Linked DNA regions of Homo sapiens: regions 1, 2, 4 and 5 are each linked to region 3. The links are contacts of gene promoters, found by promoter capture Hi-C in blood cells and fetal thymus (Javierre and others, 2016). All regions are on one chromosome and are shown on one strand. Each heading gives the region's core, a stretch centred on a gene start or on the middle of the fragment in contact. The rest is flanking DNA. Distances are from core to core; before and after follow the strand shown.

Region 1 (3,496 bases), core at 598-3,097, 790 kb before region 3:
GTGAATGTGCCTGAGGAGTCTCGGAACGGAGAAACCAGTCCCCGAACCAAAATCACGGTATGCCAGTATTTTATGTAGTTTGCCTTTACTAAATATTTTGCCTAGTTACTCAAGAATTGAATGTTCTATATTGAAAATATTTGGAAAGTAAAATAATATTAAAAATATTACTGTCACTTATCTGGCTTTAACTTTGTGCAAGACACTCTTCTAAGTGCCATACACGAATTTTCTCATTTAACTCTCCTAATATGAATGATGCTGTTTTTCTATTTTATAGATGAGAAAACCAAGGCAAGAAGGGTTAATTAATCATGTTTTAATGGTAAACTCGGGATTTGCATGAAGACAGTCTGACTCTTGAGCCCAGTTCTTGTCCACTACATGATACTGCTTTGTAGTTTCTATTAAACTACACCAGTAGTTTAATTCACCAGTGAATTAAAACTGTAAAAGTTATCAACTCCTAATTGTACCAAAGCTGCATGAATCACTGCACATAGCTACCCTTAGGCAAGATCTTGTAGGTAGAGAAATGGGTTATTTTATCTTTTTCAGAATTTTGCATTAGATTTGGTTTGGTTTGGTTTTGGAGTGCATACCACCAAACATTCTCTAGGTCAGTCTTGTCCAGTCCATGGCCCAGGATGGCTTTGGATGCAGCTCAACACAAATTTGTAAACTTTATTAAAACATTATGAGAATTTTTTGTGATTTTGTTAAACTAATCAGCTATCGTTAGTGTTGGTGTATTTTATATGTGGCCCAAGACAGTTCTTCCAATGTGGCCCAGGGAAGTCAAAAGATTGGACACCACAGTTCTAGATATTCAGAATTAGTTCATCTTATATAAACTAATGGCATTCAATATGAAAATACCTAGGCATCAAAATGTCTTTTCTGTAGTCTATAAGATTTCTTGCCTCCCAGTAAAAGAACATAATTAAACTCATTGGTTTCTCAGAATTCATTTTGTTTACAGAGATTGATGGTCAGCCATCATTAATCTTGATCGAGATTCGCTTTCTTTAAGGATTATAATATGGGGTAAATGAGAAGAATTATGTAAGCTCCTTCCAACCCCGTGGTTCTATTTTGCTATTATATACCAGATTATCCCCATTATAAAATGCCGATTAGGGCTTGGCCTTTTCTGTCAGCCAAAAATAAAAAGTGAAGTCTGATAAACTAAAATCTTAAGATATTTCTTAAGTTTTTTTTTTTTTTGATTACTCCTTTGCCATCTTCATCTGACTGCTGTCTTCAGTGCAGAAGACAAAACACTGAATGTGAGTGAATGTGAGATCATGCTCTCTGTGCTTGAAGTAGTTTCAGCATCATATTTTCACTTGACACAAGGAGAAAGTTTAATTAGCAGTATAATTGAATATTTATGTGAATCGTAATGGCATTTATTTTTTAAGTAAATGTTGATTTTGAGCCTTTTCTAACTAGTATGAGATGAAACTAATTCACCACTAAGATACTGCTTAGTGAAATTATTTAAACATTGGCAATGCCCCTCTTGAGACTATAAGCAGTTATCTAACAATCTACTAATATTTTCTTAACACAAAGCTTCATTTTAGAAAATTTTTGATTCTTTAGTGGATGAAAGCAGAAGACTCATCTAAAGTTAGTGGTGGAACACCTATCAAAATTGAAGATCCAAATCAGTTTGTTCCTTTAAACACAAACCCGAATGAGGTACTAGAAAAGAGAAATAAGGTAAGACATGGTCTTCTATAGCCAGGGGAGACATTTTAATTGCTTTATGTTTAAATCACCAGTGGTTGAATCTGGTTAATGCCAAACTTAGAAGTTTGAATACAGAAGAATTTGGAATTTAATTCAGTATAATTTTAGCTTATATTGAATGCCTCCAGCTCTGTGCTAGTAATTGGTGAACAGGCTACATGGGGAAGATGTATTGAACATTTTTCTGCGTTAGAGAACCCTGCTATTAGGGGGAAAATGCAGTTCTCTAACAACCTAAGACGAAAGGAAATAACTTGCCATAAAGAGCAGAGGAGACTAATATGAGTTGTTAGGATGGTAAAAGAGGTCTTTATGGAGGTGGGAATTGAAGAGACTCTCACTCTGGAAATGTCAAGTAGTAAGCTTTTATGAAAAGATAAAGCAAAGGTCATCTGCATAGTTGCCCTCAAGAACTTTATATTGAATTGTTTTTCAATTCAGATTCGGGAACAAAATCGATATGACTTGAAAACAGCAGGACCACAATCTCAGTTGCTTGCTGGAATTGTTGTGGATAAGCCACCTTCTGTAAGTTTATGAAGTAGTATGATCTTTGTTTTTTATTTACCACATTAATTTCATTGATTTTTAAATATGAATATTTATTTTTACTAAGGTTAATATAAGCACAAGTTAAAAAGTCAACTCACAAGATTTAAAATGTCACCCACAATTCCCAGTTTCCAGGTGCAGCAACTTTCTGTTCTTTTCATTGCTTCTAATGTTTACTTTGGTGTTTCTGGTTAGTTAGTTGAGATGAGGTCTCACTCTGTTGCCCAGGATAGTCGTGAACACCTGATCTCAGGTGATCCTCCAGCCTTGACCTCCTGAAGTATTGGGATTACAGGTATAAACCACTGCTCCTCGTCCTCCTTTGATGTTTCTAAAGAGCATCTTCTGCTTTTTCTTGGTCTATCAGTTTTAGACCTTGACTATTTTTCATCAAATCTGTGTTATCCGTTATAAGAAGTACCATTGTTTTATATGTCACTAAAAGAGAAAAAACACTGCCAATTATAATTGTTCCCAATTTCAGAGATGGAAAAAGTTCATCTTAGAATTAATGAAATATTTTTGAAAGATGGGGATTTAGCCTGTTTATACAGTGCTTCCCTTTTTCCCTCTCCCCATTCTCCCAGTAAGGATACATCACAGTTTTTGTTTTTTGTTTTTTGTTTTTTTCTGTTAGATCAGCTTTCGTTATTTATATTACTACATGTTTGCTGCTAAGCCAGGTAGTATTTCCTTTCTTACATAAGTCACCCCTCCCTACTCTCACCTTGCCTTTTTTTCATTGGCTTATTATTTGGGGTACATTGGCTTAGTTCTTCCCGAACTTTTTAAAAGAATTATAAAGTCCCGGCTGGGTGCAGTGGCTCACGCCTGTAATCCCAGCACTTTGGGAGGCCGAGGCGGGCAGATCACGAGGTCAAGAGATCAAGACCATCCTGGCCAACATGGTGAAACCCCATCTCTACTGAAAATACAAAAATTAGCTGTGCGTGGTGGCGTGCACCTGTAGTCCCAGCTACTCAGGAGGCTGAGGCAGGAGAATCACTCGAACCCGGGAGGCAGAGGTTGCAGTGAGCCAAGATCATGCCACTGTACTCCAGCCTGGTGACAGAGCGAGACTCCGTCTCAAAAAATAAGAATAACATAAAATCTGTCCTAATATTATTTTCCACAGGGTGAAAGTCAACAGGTAATCTCTCTGTTCCAGCCCCCCTTCATTCTGATC
Region 2 (3,510 bases), core at 415-2,914, 850 kb before region 3:
TATAAGCTGCCATATTTAAAGTTGGAGTGAGGAAGAACCTTACACTGATCCACATACCCCAAAATTCGTGTCAGTGTACTTTATGGGGATCTTGTAGTTTGAAGGATGGCATGGTCCACAAGATAAAAAGCTTCATCATGACAGTCAATAAGTAATGTTCTGGGTTTACATAGAGTTTATATTTCTTTCCTCAAGGTTCTCAGTTTTTCATTTTCATGTATAAGGTATACATCGCTTTTCTAAAACACCAACAATGCTAGATTATTTTTGCTTTGATTTGCTTTGTTTTTTTCATATTCCTTTGAATGATTTAGTTATTACTTCTCTTTGTTTAATATTTTTTAAAGGGATAACTATTTATCCTAACTTTCTCTATACTGGAAAAACACCCCCTTTCCTTCCCCCATTTACAGGATTGTGCAACCTTTCAGTTAAACAAAACCAAAATTGTTCACTTGCTCAGTGTTCCACCCCCTTGAAATAAGCCACATAGCTCTCTATGGGTGTGGCCCAGCGTCTTTGGCTGCCACAGTTACTTGATCCCCTTATCTCATGTCACCCTTGGCTCCCTATATTGTCTCTTCATCTGGTTTCTTAGCTCCTCCTTTTCCCGCTTCCACCGAGTTTTTGTACTGCTCCTGTCACTTTGCTTCTCAGAAGTTCAGAAGCAATTGTCATGAGCTTTTCCACCTCCCCCCCTCCTTTCTCTGAATCTTCTGAGGAAGTTACAGTTGGCCCTCCACTTCTGAGGGTTTCGCATTCTCAGATTCAACCAACCACAGATTGAAAATATTAGAGTAAAAATACAGAATAACTACTTACATAGCATTTACATTGTATTAGGCATCATAAGTAATCTAGAGATGATTCAAAGTATTCAGGAGGAAGTACAAAGTTTTATGCAGATACCACTTCATTTTATATCAGAGACTTGAGCATCCTGGATTTTGGTGGCCATGGGAGGTCCTAGAACTAATCCCTGATGGATACCTAGGGACAGCTGTACATATACACTGTCCAAAGAATTCATTGAGGATTTCCTACTCCAGGATTAAACTCCTGAAGTGAACGTTTTGAAAGGCAAAAGGATTTTTTCTTTTTTGTCAAAGTTTAGATGTTGTAGGTGTGAATTCATTAGTATAAAGTACTTACAGCCCTTGCTTTATATAAAGTATATGCTCCTAAAAAGTTGGCTAGTGGCTGGTCATGGTGGCTTATTCCTGTAATCCCAGCACTTTGGGAGGCTGAGGGAGCTGGATCACTTGAGCGCAGGAGTTTGAGATCAGCCTGGGCAACGTGGTGAGACCTCGTCTCTGCAAAAAATAGAAAAATTAGCTGGGCGTGGTCATGTGAGCCTGTGGTCCCAGCTACTTGGGAGGCTGAGCTGGGAGGATTATTTGAGCCCGGGGAGGTTGTGGCTGCAGTGAGCCATGATCATGCCGCTGCACCCAGCCTGGGCAATAGAGTGGGACCCTGTCTTAAAAAAAAAAAATTGCCTGTATCTCAGTATAACATGGTTAAATGCAGGTGCGATTACTATTTAAGACAACCTGGCAAGGAATCTTTAAATAATTTACATAAATAATCCTACCTTAATTTTTCCATTTTAAAGGATTTTTCCTCTCAGGTTGTCATGATTGTATATGCTGTAAATGATCTGCATATTCTTCTTCATAAAAATGGAAGATTTGTTATTTATTTGTACTTCAGTGTGGAAGCATCTTAAACATTAACCCTGTGGCATTTTCTCATCAATAGTAAGTTGATCAAATGAGTGACCCAGTCTCAGCAATTTAACATATCATCCCTTTCAGCTTTAAATGTATATTTAATCACCTTAGCCCATTTTTCAATCCACAAAAGTAACCTTTCTCATATATCAACAGCTTTCTGGGCCAGTGAACCTTAGAACTTAAGTGCCTTACAAAACATAATGCTTATTAGTTGTGTTTTTTTTTTCCCCTTCCCACCCTCTCCCATTAAATCTACCTTGCTTATACTTGATGCTTTTAAGGATTTGAGCTCATAGGGTGTAGTATAATGTAGTGCCACCTTGACCATGAAATTTGTTTACTGACCTTAGTATTAACCTAGAACATTCTTATGCCTCTTTTCATGGTGATGTGGTGTCAGATTACAATTTGACTGGCTTTCAAGATAATTGGTCTTAATTATTTCTAAGTCATTGGTTAATGCAGTGTAAGAACAAGCATTGTTTAAAAAAGAATATAAATGGCTTTTGAGTTTCTTTTCTTAGCATGCAAGTCAGATTAGAGTGAAAGCAAAAGCACATGACACAAAACTGTGGTTCGCTAATAGATTGTAGGCTTCCTGTAGCTTAAATTATACACACCACAGTAAACTGTTACCCAGTGGCAATTTTGATTTCCCTTTTGTATTAGTTGTAATCTGTGATACTTTTATTTAAAGTAAAGCCATGTATTAAAAGTTTATTAAAACATATATTGTCTTTTTTTAATCTTTTTCCTCTTCACCCCATACATATATACTCATTCCTTTTAGACCAAGCTCCAGGGTAACTTGCCCTGTAACCTTTCAAATAGGCTCCTTTCTCTGAATATATCTGTAGTATATCTGTAGTATATCTATTATAATAACAGAGTGTGCTACAATTGTCTCTCCCTCTCCCCTGCCCCAACCCACTAAATTGCTAGTATTTTAGGGTCAGAGACAATGTCTCGTTCATTTCTTACATTTTTTACCATGATACCTGTTCACTTGTAGCATGTAATAGTAGGGGAATGAATAGTTAGTAGAATAAATGTATTTAAGAAAAAAGTAGAAAAGAAATATATGGTGAATTGATTTACCAACTCAGAATTTAAATATAAATTTAAAAAATCTAAAATCAAAGTAGGTTATGTGATCAGTACTGCTGTAGGTTGCAGAGAATAAATTGATACTCTACACTTTAGTTATGTTTGGGAGCAGTATGTATGATTCTGTAAACTGAAATCCCTCTAATATGTACAGAAGAAATACATTTACAGACTAGTTTTGTTTTTGTTTTCGTTACACCTTCTATCATGCCACTGAGTATATAGCAAATCTATCAACCATTGAGTGGAAAAACACATTAAGATGCTTGAAGGCAGGCAGAGTTATGCAGGGGTTGAAGGATAAAGATTGGGGGGTAGGGGTGCAGATAACCAAACTTGTCTCTCGCCCTGTCTTGGAAAAAGCTTACTTATCATATCTGAGGACTCTTAAAGCATTAATTTTAGAGGCTGGGATGTGGCTCTTGTCATATACAGGCAGCCCAAGTTCTACAGCTAGATCTCAGAGAAGCTGAGAGTGTTAGTAGGCCTACAAACACATCATGTGGGTTTTTTTTTTTGTTTGTTTTTAGTTTTTTGTTGTTTTTGGGGGGGGGGGGTGGGGAGCCAGCTTTGCCTCCTACCTATCCAACAGCAGTGTTTGAAGCTAAGTGCTTGAATTTGTTTTAGGAGGATAATTTTTAGAAACATTATTGATACTTAAATTTCCCAA
Region 3 (3,327 bases), core at 712-3,211:
GCAGGATTGGGAAGGAGAAGGTATAAAAGATATTCCTGGGTAAATTAGGAAAATTAGCACTTGGCCTAGATTTTAAAAGTTACAAAACAGCTGAAATAATGATATTGTGTTTTGCTGGAGAACTTCAAAATTCTTAGGAAATTCATGCTGGAAATCTTAAGGGTGTCTTGCCTAACAATAAGTGTCTGCAACTTTTTATGACAATGAAAAAGTGGGGAGGAATGAAAAAAAATGGCAAAATGTTAACTGCTGCATATAGATGATGGGTACATGAATATTCATTAAATTATTTCTTTCAGCTTTTAAATATATGAACACTTTCATAATAAAACACTGGGGAAAAAAATCATGTCAGAAAGACTTCACAGGGGAAACGTAAAACAAAGATTGAGTAGCAGGCGCTCAGCTGAATTTCTGATAAATTGAAGGTCTCTAAAACTTGGCTGGAAGTGTCTTGGGCATCCAAGAGACACCCGATATATTCAAACTTTCAGTAAGTATTTACCAAAATAATATCATGTGCATGGTGAAAATGACGGGAAGACGAATCTGATACAAACCATTCTATTTAGGTGCAGACATGGTAGTGAAGCTAAAAACATAAGCGCTATTATATATATATAACATACTGATTGTCATAAAAGATGTACAAAAAATGCTAAACTCAGAGGAAATTACTTCCTGCTGGGAAGAATCTGGAAACACATCTCCACGGGTAACAGAATCAGATACAGAATCACAAAAGGTGACTGCTACAACAGATTTCAGTAATTAACAGCAAAGAAACAAGAGTAGTTCATTTTGGCTGGCGTGTAAGTACTAAGGAAGCAGAAATTAAGTCGAGAAGGTAGGTTTGCATCTGTATTGTTGACTGGCTGGATATTAACCATTTTCAATTTTACCTGAAAGTTCTGGTCTTTTTGCTGCAGCTTTAAGCATCCAACCCGGTATTACCAAGATGACTTAGAGTTCTTGACTCAAGCATACAGAAGAAACTACAAGATAATGTATGATAACTTTGTAAAGGGCCATATAAAAGCAATACAGTATTTTCAAAAATCTTCAACACGTTGTTTAAGAAACTGTAGACCTGCAGGAATCCCACCACCAGAACCGCAGTCAAAGCTTACAAAGACTCAAAGGAGAGACGCGGAAAGGGGGGAAAAATCAGAATGGGAAGGCAGGTGGCAGGGGAAAAAGATTGAGGTCCTGCCCTGGTGGTAGGGGCTCATCTTTTCCTTTTATAGGTGAAGGTGGAAAATGATTTTCTGAAGTTCCCGAATTCTCCTCCCTCCAAAGGCCAAGGAGTGAAAGTACTTAATAGGAACTTGCGGAGGCGTGGTCAAGAGCTCCGTTTTGCCGGAGTTAGGAGCTCCGCCCCGAGGTCCCCGCCCATTCCCCGCTGGGGTCCTCCCGGCCGGGCTGCCTCTGGCTGGGTTAGGGCGGCCTGTAGAGCGGCCTCACCCCACAGGGAGCCTCACGGGGGCGGGCCGCCGCCAGGCCAGCCCGGAAAAAAACCGCCTTCCAACGGAAGCGGCCCTGAGCCCCGCTCGCCATTTCAGCGCTCTGTCCCACAGGGACCGTCCGGCCCGGGTCCGGCCCACTGGTTGGGGTCCACGGACTCACCTCACTTTGCAACTAAGGTCAAAAATAAGCATTCCCTGGGGCACGGGCGGCCAGGCTATTAACACCCTTCCGCCATGACCCAATTCGGAAGTGCCAAATGCAACTTCCGGGCAGGAGAGGGAATTTCGGAGCCCTAAACTGTTGTCCATCTCCGTAAGTGACCAGACGTCTCAGTAAAATAAGGGCCAGGAAACTGGACGTGTAATCCGGAGTATGAATTAACTTGTCTAACATGGGATGTGTGGTCACCCACGGTACCTCTTTGGGCTTACTTACAGATGCATCCCTTCCCAGACGGCTCAGCTGTTGCCCCGGGTAACGGTGAGACTGGCGAAGGAAAAAAATCTACGTCACCCTGGAAACAGGAAGCCAGGAATCTCCTTTTGCCATTATCAGTTATGGCCGCCTTAGCTTCAACAGTAACTTCCGATCGGGGAGTTGTCACTCTACCCTGCTGGAGGCTTACTCTGTAGCCCGGCTAGCCAGAGGCGCCCAGTGGGCGGGAGACGGCGTAGAGGAACTGAGGAAAGGACAAGGGCGGAGAGAGAGAAGCTGGCGGCACTGCCCGTCTCTGATTGGGCAGCTTCTCTTGCCCCGGTTCCGCCCATTTTTCTTGCCTAGCGAGTGACGGGCCCACGGCAGAGGGGTGGGGCGGGGAGGCTGGAGCGAGAGTAGTGGCGGGGCGGGCGGGGCGGGGCGAGTGGGGGAGGGGCGGGCGGGGGGCGGCGGTTGGGCAGCGTCGCTTCTTAGGAGGAGGAGGAAGAGGAGGAAGGAGGGCGAGCGAGGAGGATGGCGGAGTCGGGGCTCCTGACGGTAACTCGGGGCCGATGAGGCGGAGGGTGTCTGTTGGTCGGTTCTTCCTGCCTGCCTTCCTGTCCGTCGGGCAGTCGGGCTGGCTGTCGGTAGGGGGAGGCCCCGTGCGCCCTGACAGGCGCGAGCCGGCAGCGCCGGGGCGAGGCCCGAGGGGCCGGGGCCCTGGGAGGCGCCGCCGCCGCCGCTTTCCTGGTTGCTGTCTCCGGGAGTGCGGGGCCCTTGGAGCCGGCTCGCGTGGGAGCCTGCAGCCCGGCGCGGAGAGGAAGGCGGTCGGGTGTGACAGCGGCCGGGGCCGGGCCTGCGGCGGCGGCGGCGGGCGGCCCGGACAGCGCCTGGGCGACGGCGAGCCGGCGCGAGGGCGCGGGCCGGGGGCCCCCGGCGGACAGTCTCTCTCCTCTCGGCTCCCTGGGCCCCCGGGCCCAGTCCGCAGGGCGCCCCGAGTCGTGTAAATCGTTGGCGAGGGCCCGGGCGCAGCGGCGGTCATACAGGGTGGGGTCTCTTCTCGCCCCCTCCCTGGAGTCCACCTTGCTCTCCCGTTCTCCTCTCCCTAAAAACCCTTGAGTGAAGAGTGCTGGATCGGCTCTGGGTGTGTTGCCTAGCGAAGCGAGTTGTAGCCCTTCGAGACCGCCTCGTAGAACATGCCCGATGGCAACCTCTCCCCGTGATAGCACAGCTTTTAGGGAGAGAGGAAAAGTAGTCTCACTCTTCCCCGACTTCCCCAGGCTCATAACACAAGAGGCTTTGGGGCAAGACGATTTTTCCCCCAGCACCTCAATATCCATTGTTTTTGTACCATCCCCCTCCCCCCATGCCTAGGTGGAAGAGTAATGACTCCAAAGCATTAACTTGCCTTTCTCTTTATTTCTTTTCTTTCTTTTTCTTTTCTTC
Region 4 (3,616 bases), core at 975-3,474, 570 kb before region 3:
GAAGAGGCAAGAAATAGATTCTCCCCTAGATCCTTTGGAGGGAGCATGTCCATGCCAACACCTTGCTTTCAGACTTCTCGTCTCCAGAACTCTGAAAGAATAAATTTCTATTGCTTTAAGTTACCCAGTTTGTGGTTATCTGTCACATAGTCTCAGTTAACAAGCCCAGATTTGTAGATGCCTTAGTCTTGTCATTGTAGTCCAGACCCATTGCAATATGACTCTGACCTACAGCTCAAGTAGATAAGCTTTCTGGGGAACCTGCCTCAGAAATGCTGTCCTTTCTCCTCAGGCCTGTGTCCCTCGAGTTCTCCATCCAGCCAAGGAGATACATAGGCACTTACCTATTTATCTGATACAAAAACCTGTACTTAATACCACCATTGGGATTTGGTTCAGTCAACACTGACTGCGTACCAAGCACTGGGCTGGGCACTGGGGACACCGTGCAGATGTACTTCCACTGGGTAGTGCTTTCAAGTTTGCAAGTCACATCCGTATGCATTTCTCTATTGGACGTTCAAACTGCCTTATTAGGTAAGTAAGACAAAAGAATCTTAAATCTATTTTGCAGATGGGTAAACTGAGGCTCCAGAGATCGTAAGTGCTTTGTTCAAAGTCATGCAGCAGGGCCAGAGCTTAATCCACATTTCTTGCATATTCTTTCCATGGTACTAAGCTCCCTCTAAGCCCAGTGATTTTGAAGTCCAGGGAGGGAAAGTACAAGTAGGTAGGCTCTTAGAAGAGGTAGGAATTGAGCAGTTGTTTTGTAAAATGAGTTGCAATAGGTCAGAAATTAACAAAGTGGATTAAATCTGACCCACCTCCTGCTTTTGTATTAAAAAAGGTTTCTTAGAACATAGCCTTGCTCACTCATTTACATGTTGTCACACTATGGCTGCAGAGTTGAGTGGCTGGGATAGAAACTGTGATCTGCAAAGTCTAAAATATTTATTATTTGACCCTTTACAGTAAAACCTGCAAATCCCTGCAGTAGATGGTGTCATGCGTGGGGCAGGAGCTTGTGGGGGTGGGAGGGGTGAATGCCTACCAGATAAGGAAATTCACAGCTCCTGGTTAAAAGTAACATTCAATTCCTTGGAGTGACTATTTTTGTAGTCTTAACAATAGCAAACACTTAACACGGTGCTCATTGTGTGCCAGGAAGTATTTTAAGTGCTTTACACATAACAATGCTTAATTATTAATTATTATTATTATCATCCCCATTTTAGAGGTGAGGAAGTAGGCACACAGAGAGATCAAGAAGTATGCTGGAGCTCACACAGCTAGCAAGGGGCAGAGCCAAGGTTCGATGCTGGGCAATCCATGCCAGAGACTGTGTGCAGAGTCCCCCCAGTTTAGCAGCTCATATCCTTAGGAACCCTGGGTATTCATCAATTCATTCAACAAGAATGTATGGAGCTCTGCCGCAATAAACACCCAGTGCTAGATTCTGTAAAAAGTGCCAGCTGTTTCTTTCCACGTGCATATTTCCTTACCATTTTCCTGACAGCCCCAGACACCCTGATGTGTGATGCCTGCCGCTCACCTGGGAGCAGAAACGTTATTCTCAGGATGGTGACTGTTTTGATGCACTGGCCTTGGGAGGTCAGGGAAGCTATGACAGAGCAAAGGCTTTTCCGGAACATAGACAAAGTGCTGAAGCCACGATGCAGTGATCTAAGGCATAGTCAGCGTTGAGTAAGGCAGGGAGGGAGGCTGCTGGGCACTGTCATGACGCTGAGAGACTCGTCACTTAGCCATGAGGACGTCTCGCTTCTACTGAGGCTGTGGCTCTGCTGAAAGCCACATCGTGATTAACTAGAGAGGATGAGAATGCTGGGTGTACCCTCCCCCTCCCCCAACCTCACCCCCAAGAGCACCAGTCAGTTGTATTCAGCTGTGTAATTATCCTATCATAGTTTATTTCCTATCTTCCTGCAGAGGTGATTGGTGCAAGAAAATTAAGTATGTGGCATCTTGTCAGGAGACAGAAAATTTCATACTGATTATTTCATCTAAGGTTGGGAGAGGGAAGGAGGCTGCTCTGCTGCAGTGTGTTTCAGAGGAAGCAAGGGGCAGGCTGGAGCAGGCACCCACCTGCTGGGATGAACTCACCTGGCCCTGGCCCCCCCGCCCATCCCTGGGTATCTGTGGTCAGATCTGGCTCCTAGTTGCTGGGGGGGTGGATGAGACAAGGGCGGGGTGAGAAACTGTTAAGGTGAATTTGGCTACAGTTGGTAACAGTGCTCTCCTTCTACAGCCCCTGCTCCCCGGGCAGCAAGCCTGGGAGGAGAGAAACTGAGGTACAACTGAGGTTGTACCTCAGGCTTCTTTATCACATAAATCCTTCCCCTCCCCACCCCAGCAACCCAACACTGAGAAGAAACAGAGGAAGAAGAAAGAATACTTGATCAGGGCTCCCTGGCCCTTAGTAGGGAGGTAGTCACACACACATGACAGATGGCGATCTGTCACGGAGTCATGGGTGTCAAGTTGAAAAAAAGAAAAAGAATACACTCTACCCTACACTAAATGGAATGAAAGGGAAAATACGGAGTATGAACGACAGGCTGTTCCCTCAAGACAGCTCCATTATCTGGAGGCGAGTCCAGCGGACAGGAGAGGGCGCTGTTTCAGAGCTTCTTCCTCATTACTGATGTGTGCAGCCCTCAGAGGATGCCCATCTCAGCCATCTACTCACGACCTTGGCTGACAGCCCCTGGCATGACCGCTGGTGAGCCAGCCAACTGGGAATTTGAGGGAGCCTCACAACTCAGAGACAGGCTCTTGAGAAAAGGAGGGAGCATCCAGAACCCACTTTAAAGATACACAGAGGAGCCCTGGAGGTCTGCGCCTGCTTGGCTGGTGGCTCCGCTCTGAGGATCTGGGCCCATTCACTGCACTGACCACCTGCTCATCTACCGTTTGTGCCTACAGGCTAAAGGCTTAAGCAAGCTCCCAGTTGCACTCAGGCCTGGACAGGATTTCAGGAATGAGTGGCCCAGCGGGCATTTATTCCTATGCCCTGATCCAAACCTCCAGATGCCACCATTTGTTTAAATCAGCAAGGGATGGGAGACAGCCTCCACATGCCAGGCCAAAGGCACCAAGGACCTAGGCCCTGCTCACACAGAGCTTAAGGTCTCACAGAAGCACATGGACCTGAAACAAATAAATACAAAACTGTAAGTGATTCTATATGCCATGAAAAAGAAGAGCCAGGTGCCAAGGGGGGGGGGGTGGTACCAGGAGATCTAAGTTTGTTGGGGCTCAGAGGAAGCATCCAGACAGCTGTGCAGCTTTGGGGTCGCGGGGCGGGGGGGATGCTGAGGCTGGGGGAGGGAGAAGCTGTGCAGGAAGAAGCAGTCACACCTGCAAAGCACACAGCTTGGGGCACCAAGCGGACCCCAAACCAAGGTGGGTAGGAAGGGAGAGAGCGAAGCGAGAGGACAGGGCCTCAGCTAGGGCCCAATCAGATTTGACTTTTTCTGGGATTTCCCCAGGCCCCAGGTCTCCAGCTACCAAACAGAGCAGCCCAAGTTCTTTCTCAGGAGCTTTGCATATTATTTGCTTACAACTTCTCTTGCTTTCTCTCTCTCTCCTTTATGTT
Region 5 (3,738 bases), core at 159-2,658, 690 kb before region 3:
AAAAATATATTTTAGAATATATTATCTCAAGATCCACCAATGTGTGGGTTTTGGGCTGGGGCTTATGAGAGAGAACTAGTATGTTAAAATGAAACACTAGAAATTATTTCTCCTTTGCCACTTATTTAAAATGCCTGCTTCATGGAAGTAAGGAGAGCTGAGGTAGAAATTCCAATACTGGGGTATTTGGACAATAGTGTTGGTCCATTTGAAAGAGGACACTGTAGGCTTCTTCTTAATTTTAAGTTTACTATTGGATTTTAATGAGATTTTATTATGCTGGTTACATAAAGCAGAAAGTTAGAAGACTTACAGAAATTTCCATGTATTTATCATCTGAAACAAGGAAAGGAATGGACTTCATAAGTATATATGTCTTATTTTTTCCTGATCAAAAAGCTACTAGTGTGGAAGTAGCTGTTATTTTATTACTATACATCTTGAACACTGATGTATGTTATAAAATGACATTTGTTTCTCTGACATCGTAGCATCTTTAAGATATAATGGTGATTGACTATTTTACCCCTGATATTCTCAGGTATTATATGATATGCCTGATAAAATGTTACTTTAGGCAGGGTGCAGTGGCTCACGCCTGTAATTCCAGCACTTTGGGAGGCTGAGGTAGGTGGATTGCCTGAGGTCAGGAGTTCGAGACCAGCCTGGCCAACATGATGAAACCCTGTCTCTACTAAAAATACAGAAATTAGCCAGGTGTGGTAGTGTGTGCCTGTAATCTCTGCTACTTGGGAGGCTGAGACAGGATAATTGCTGGAACTTGGGAGGCGGAGGTTGCAGTGAGCTGAGATTGCATCACTGCATTCCAGCCTGGGCAACAGAGTGATAATCCACCCCCCCCCCCTCAAAAAAGTAACTTTATAAATTTATGCTGAAAGTAGTTAACTCCTAATATTATAAATTCCTATTCCCCTTTCCCCCATTCCTTAAAATCTTATTTTCAAAGAAGTAAAAAGGAGAGAAAATAAATGATATAATGTGATATTACAAATATGTTCCTTGCAAATACCAGTAATTTTATCATTTGGGATCCTTCTGATAGTTGGAAGTGGCACCTATAATATATAATTAAAATAAATGCTTGATTTTACTGTGGTCTTGGTCACAGCCTTCTGGCACACTTCCAAAAATCAACATTGCTAAGATGTTACTGCTGTTAGAGAATGTGGCTGCAATAGCTATCTGGCTTTTTGGGGAGCATCAGATAAGTTCAAATTCCAGCTTCTTTACTATTTGGTACCACAGGTGAAAAATCTCAAGGTCTGTCATCCTTAAAACTCTACTAAATAAGCCATGACTGCAGTGTAACACTGATTTCTTCCTAAATATCTCTTCAGTCGGCCTTCTTTCCTGTTACCTTCATTACTATCCTCCTAATCTCAGCTACCATCATCTCTTACTTGGACGACTGCAGTAACTTCCTACCTGGTGTCCCTGCAACTACAGTTTTTTTTTTTGTCTGGTTCTGTTGCCCAGGCTGGAGTGCAGTGGCGCGATCTCAGCTCGCTGCAAGCTCTGCCTTCTGGGTTCACGCCATTCTCCTGCCTCAGCCTCCCGAGTAGCTAGGACTACAGGTGCCTGCCACCATGCCCGGCTAATTTTTTGTATTTTTAGTAGAGACAGGGTTTCACTGTGTTAGCCAGGATGGTCTCAATCTCCTGACCTCATGAACCGCCCGGCTTGGCCTCCCAAAGTGCTGGGATTACAGGTGTGACCCACCGCACTTGGCCAGTTCTTATGAATTACATTGGCCAGCCTTCTTTTGATTCCTTCAGTACGCGTTTTCTTCTACCTCAAGATCTTTGCATACTTTCTGTTCCCTGCAGGGAATCATTTTCCCTCCCCCTTTGTTATCTCTGTTGAATAACACTCTTCTTCAGCTCAATCATAAGTTCCTCAGGAATGTTTCCTCATCTGCCGTAGTAGATCAGGTCTTCACATACTTCATGGCACCCCTATTTTTCCTTCATAGTGTTCATCACATTTGTAGAAATACAGTTATCCAGTTGTTTCTTAAATTCGTGTCCTATTCACTGGATTAAAAACCCTGCGAGGCGGGCAGGGATTGAGTCTCTTCTGCTTAAACATTTATCCCTAGTACTTATCACAGTGCCCCGTAAATAGTATGTGTTTCTTAAAGAATGGAAGGTTTTCAAACTCCAAGCAGACTGTCTTAAATTGAATTTCTTTTTTGTGCTGAGTACCATATTAGACTGGAAGGAAGAGTGATAAAACCCCTGTTTTGGCAAACTCTGATTACTTTGTGTTCCAAGGGATGTTAATGATACATTTGGAAAAACAGCATGTAGTATTTAAAGAATAAAAATCTCTAAACTGTCAATTCTTTTAAACAAGCAGGCTACAGAATGCTACACTTAATTTTGAAGAACATTCAGTGTCATCCTGTGTCATGAAAATAAAATAATACCAAACTTGCATATTGAAAGAAACAGAAGTCTTTCAGATATTGGCAATAAATATTCATATGAGCCTGTGACACACACATAGTAATTGCATTGTTTTAAGGTAATCTGGGAAGTAGTAAATAGCCAATTTATGCTTTAATTTCAAGTTGATATATTTCTTCTCTTTAGTGTCCTATGGATACTAAAGAATCTCATAAAAGCAGTATCTCAGTTCCACTTTCTAAGATTGAGGACACTAAAAAACAACTTTTCTGTTGTTTATAAGGCTTTAGTTTAATTTTTCTTAAACTGTAGAATAAAGAAATGCTTTAGTCTTATTTTAGATAGAATTATTGTATTGTTATTTTTTAGCTTTGCATCCTTTTCAGCTATCTTCATGGATTTTTAGTTTTTCTGGGGAGAGGGATGGTGGTGAATTATTTTCCTAGGATAGTTTCAAAGGATTTTTTCCAGTAGTAATTTGAGATGCTTTATCTTCTCTTTATTCTACGTGAACCTATTTGTTCACAGAAGAATTGAATGAAGCCTTATTTTTATTTTTGTGTAATTTTTTTCTACTATTCTGTGTTTTTCAAATTTTTTTATATTAAAAAGTAGTTTCTGGGTCTTTGTTCCGTAGAAAACTCCCAAAGTTTCAGGACAAAAATGTAGATTAGTAGCAGTTAAACTCTTAATGATGTTGTTATTATTCTTAAGTATTTTCTGCATTTTGAGTGATTAACACATCCAGTGAAATGTGTTTTGTGATAGTCTGTCTTCTACCAAAATTGACTTAAATGAAAAATTCCCAAGAATTACTTATATGCCTTATACTAAAAAAACTGAGGCTTTCCTTTAAATGCTTCTTTGAAGTGTAAGTTTGCTATTGCTGGGTTTCTTAAGGTTATATTCCTCTATGGAAGTATTGAAGGAAACTTGTATGATCATGCCTTGTAAGTCAGTAGGACAGCTGTTTCTGTTCCTAGTCGATGAAAGGCATTTTTGTCAAAATATTGAATATATGATGTAGAAGATCACAAAATGTAGAAAGGGAATTCTTTAGTACAATTCTCTGATTTATGAAGACAAAATATTATCACTCATTTTATGATTAAAGCACATGTGGCTTAGAGATGGTGATTGCTTAAGCCTTACAGCTGTAGATGATGGTTGACTTTATTGTCAAGCTGGATTTTAAGCAATATATGCATCATTGTTATAATCAGGCAGTACTGTTGACTGGAAGAAAGCTTTCTCTTCTAGATTTCTCCTTGCAAATGAAAGAACATTGCCTGCTTTTGAATATAGCATG

Evidence for each region. The method cuts DNA at HindIII sites, captures the fragments that hold promoters and counts their contacts. A CHiCAGO score of 5 or more calls a contact.
Region 1: a fragment that was not itself captured here is called in contact with the fragment with the promoter of BBIP1 in region 3 in 2 of 17 cell types (fetal thymus and neutrophils); the score reaches 6.8 in fetal thymus.
Region 2: a fragment that was not itself captured here is called in contact with the fragment with the promoter of BBIP1 in region 3 in 1 of 17 cell types (monocytes); the score reaches 6.1 in monocytes.
Region 4: a fragment that was not itself captured here is called in contact with the fragment with the promoter of BBIP1 in region 3 in 1 of 17 cell types (fetal thymus); the score reaches 6.6 in fetal thymus.
Region 5: a contact is called between a fragment that was not itself captured here and the fragment with the promoter of BBIP1 in region 3, in 3 of 17 cell types (neutrophils, fetal thymus and monocytes). The highest score is 8.4, in neutrophils.

What each region holds. Positions count from the first base shown.
Region 1 is chr10:110,124,218-110,127,713 of GRCh38, forward strand. ADD3 (adducin 3) reads left to right here. Exons shown (of 15, transcript NM_016824.5): 10 at 1-57; 11 at 1,609-1,728; 12 at 2,200-2,286. Among named protein-coding and RNA genes, the nearest start is that of MXI1, 82 kb to the right of the region's middle. The HindIII fragment of the contact is 543 bases long and covers 1,577-2,119 here.
Region 2 is chr10:110,067,597-110,071,106 of GRCh38, forward strand. All of the region lies in intron 1 of ADD3 (adducin 3), which reads left to right. Among named protein-coding and RNA genes, the nearest start is that of ADD3-AS1, 61 kb to the left of the region's middle. The HindIII fragment of the contact is 3,073 bases long and covers 129-3,201 here.
Region 3 is chr10:110,917,219-110,920,545 of GRCh38, forward strand. It overlaps BBIP1 (BBSome interacting protein 1), which reads right to left and starts at 1,962. Exons shown (of 4, transcript NM_001195305.3): 1 at 1,903-1,962; 2 at 903-995. The coding sequence starts at 939. SHOC2 (SHOC2 leucine rich repeat scaffold protein) reads left to right here and starts at 2,386. Exons shown (of 9, transcript NM_007373.4): 1 at 2,386-2,439. RefSeq lists silencers at 1,296-1,455, 2,306-2,745, 2,756-2,845 and enhancers at 1,587-2,126, 1,816-2,015, 2,036-2,085. The HindIII fragment of the contact is 2,602 bases long and covers 1,124-3,327 here.
Region 4 is chr10:110,351,864-110,355,479 of GRCh38, forward strand. No RefSeq gene overlaps it. Among named protein-coding and RNA genes, the nearest start is that of SMNDC1, 49 kb to the left of the region's middle. RefSeq lists enhancers at 2,685-2,774, 3,605-3,616. The HindIII fragment of the contact is 3,956 bases long and covers 247-3,616 here.
Region 5 is chr10:110,230,509-110,234,246 of GRCh38, forward strand. The region is part of intron 2 of MXI1 (MAX interactor 1, dimerization protein); the gene reads left to right. Among named protein-coding and RNA genes, the nearest start is that of MXI1, 25 kb to the left of the region's middle. The HindIII fragment of the contact is 4,532 bases long and covers 1-3,674 here.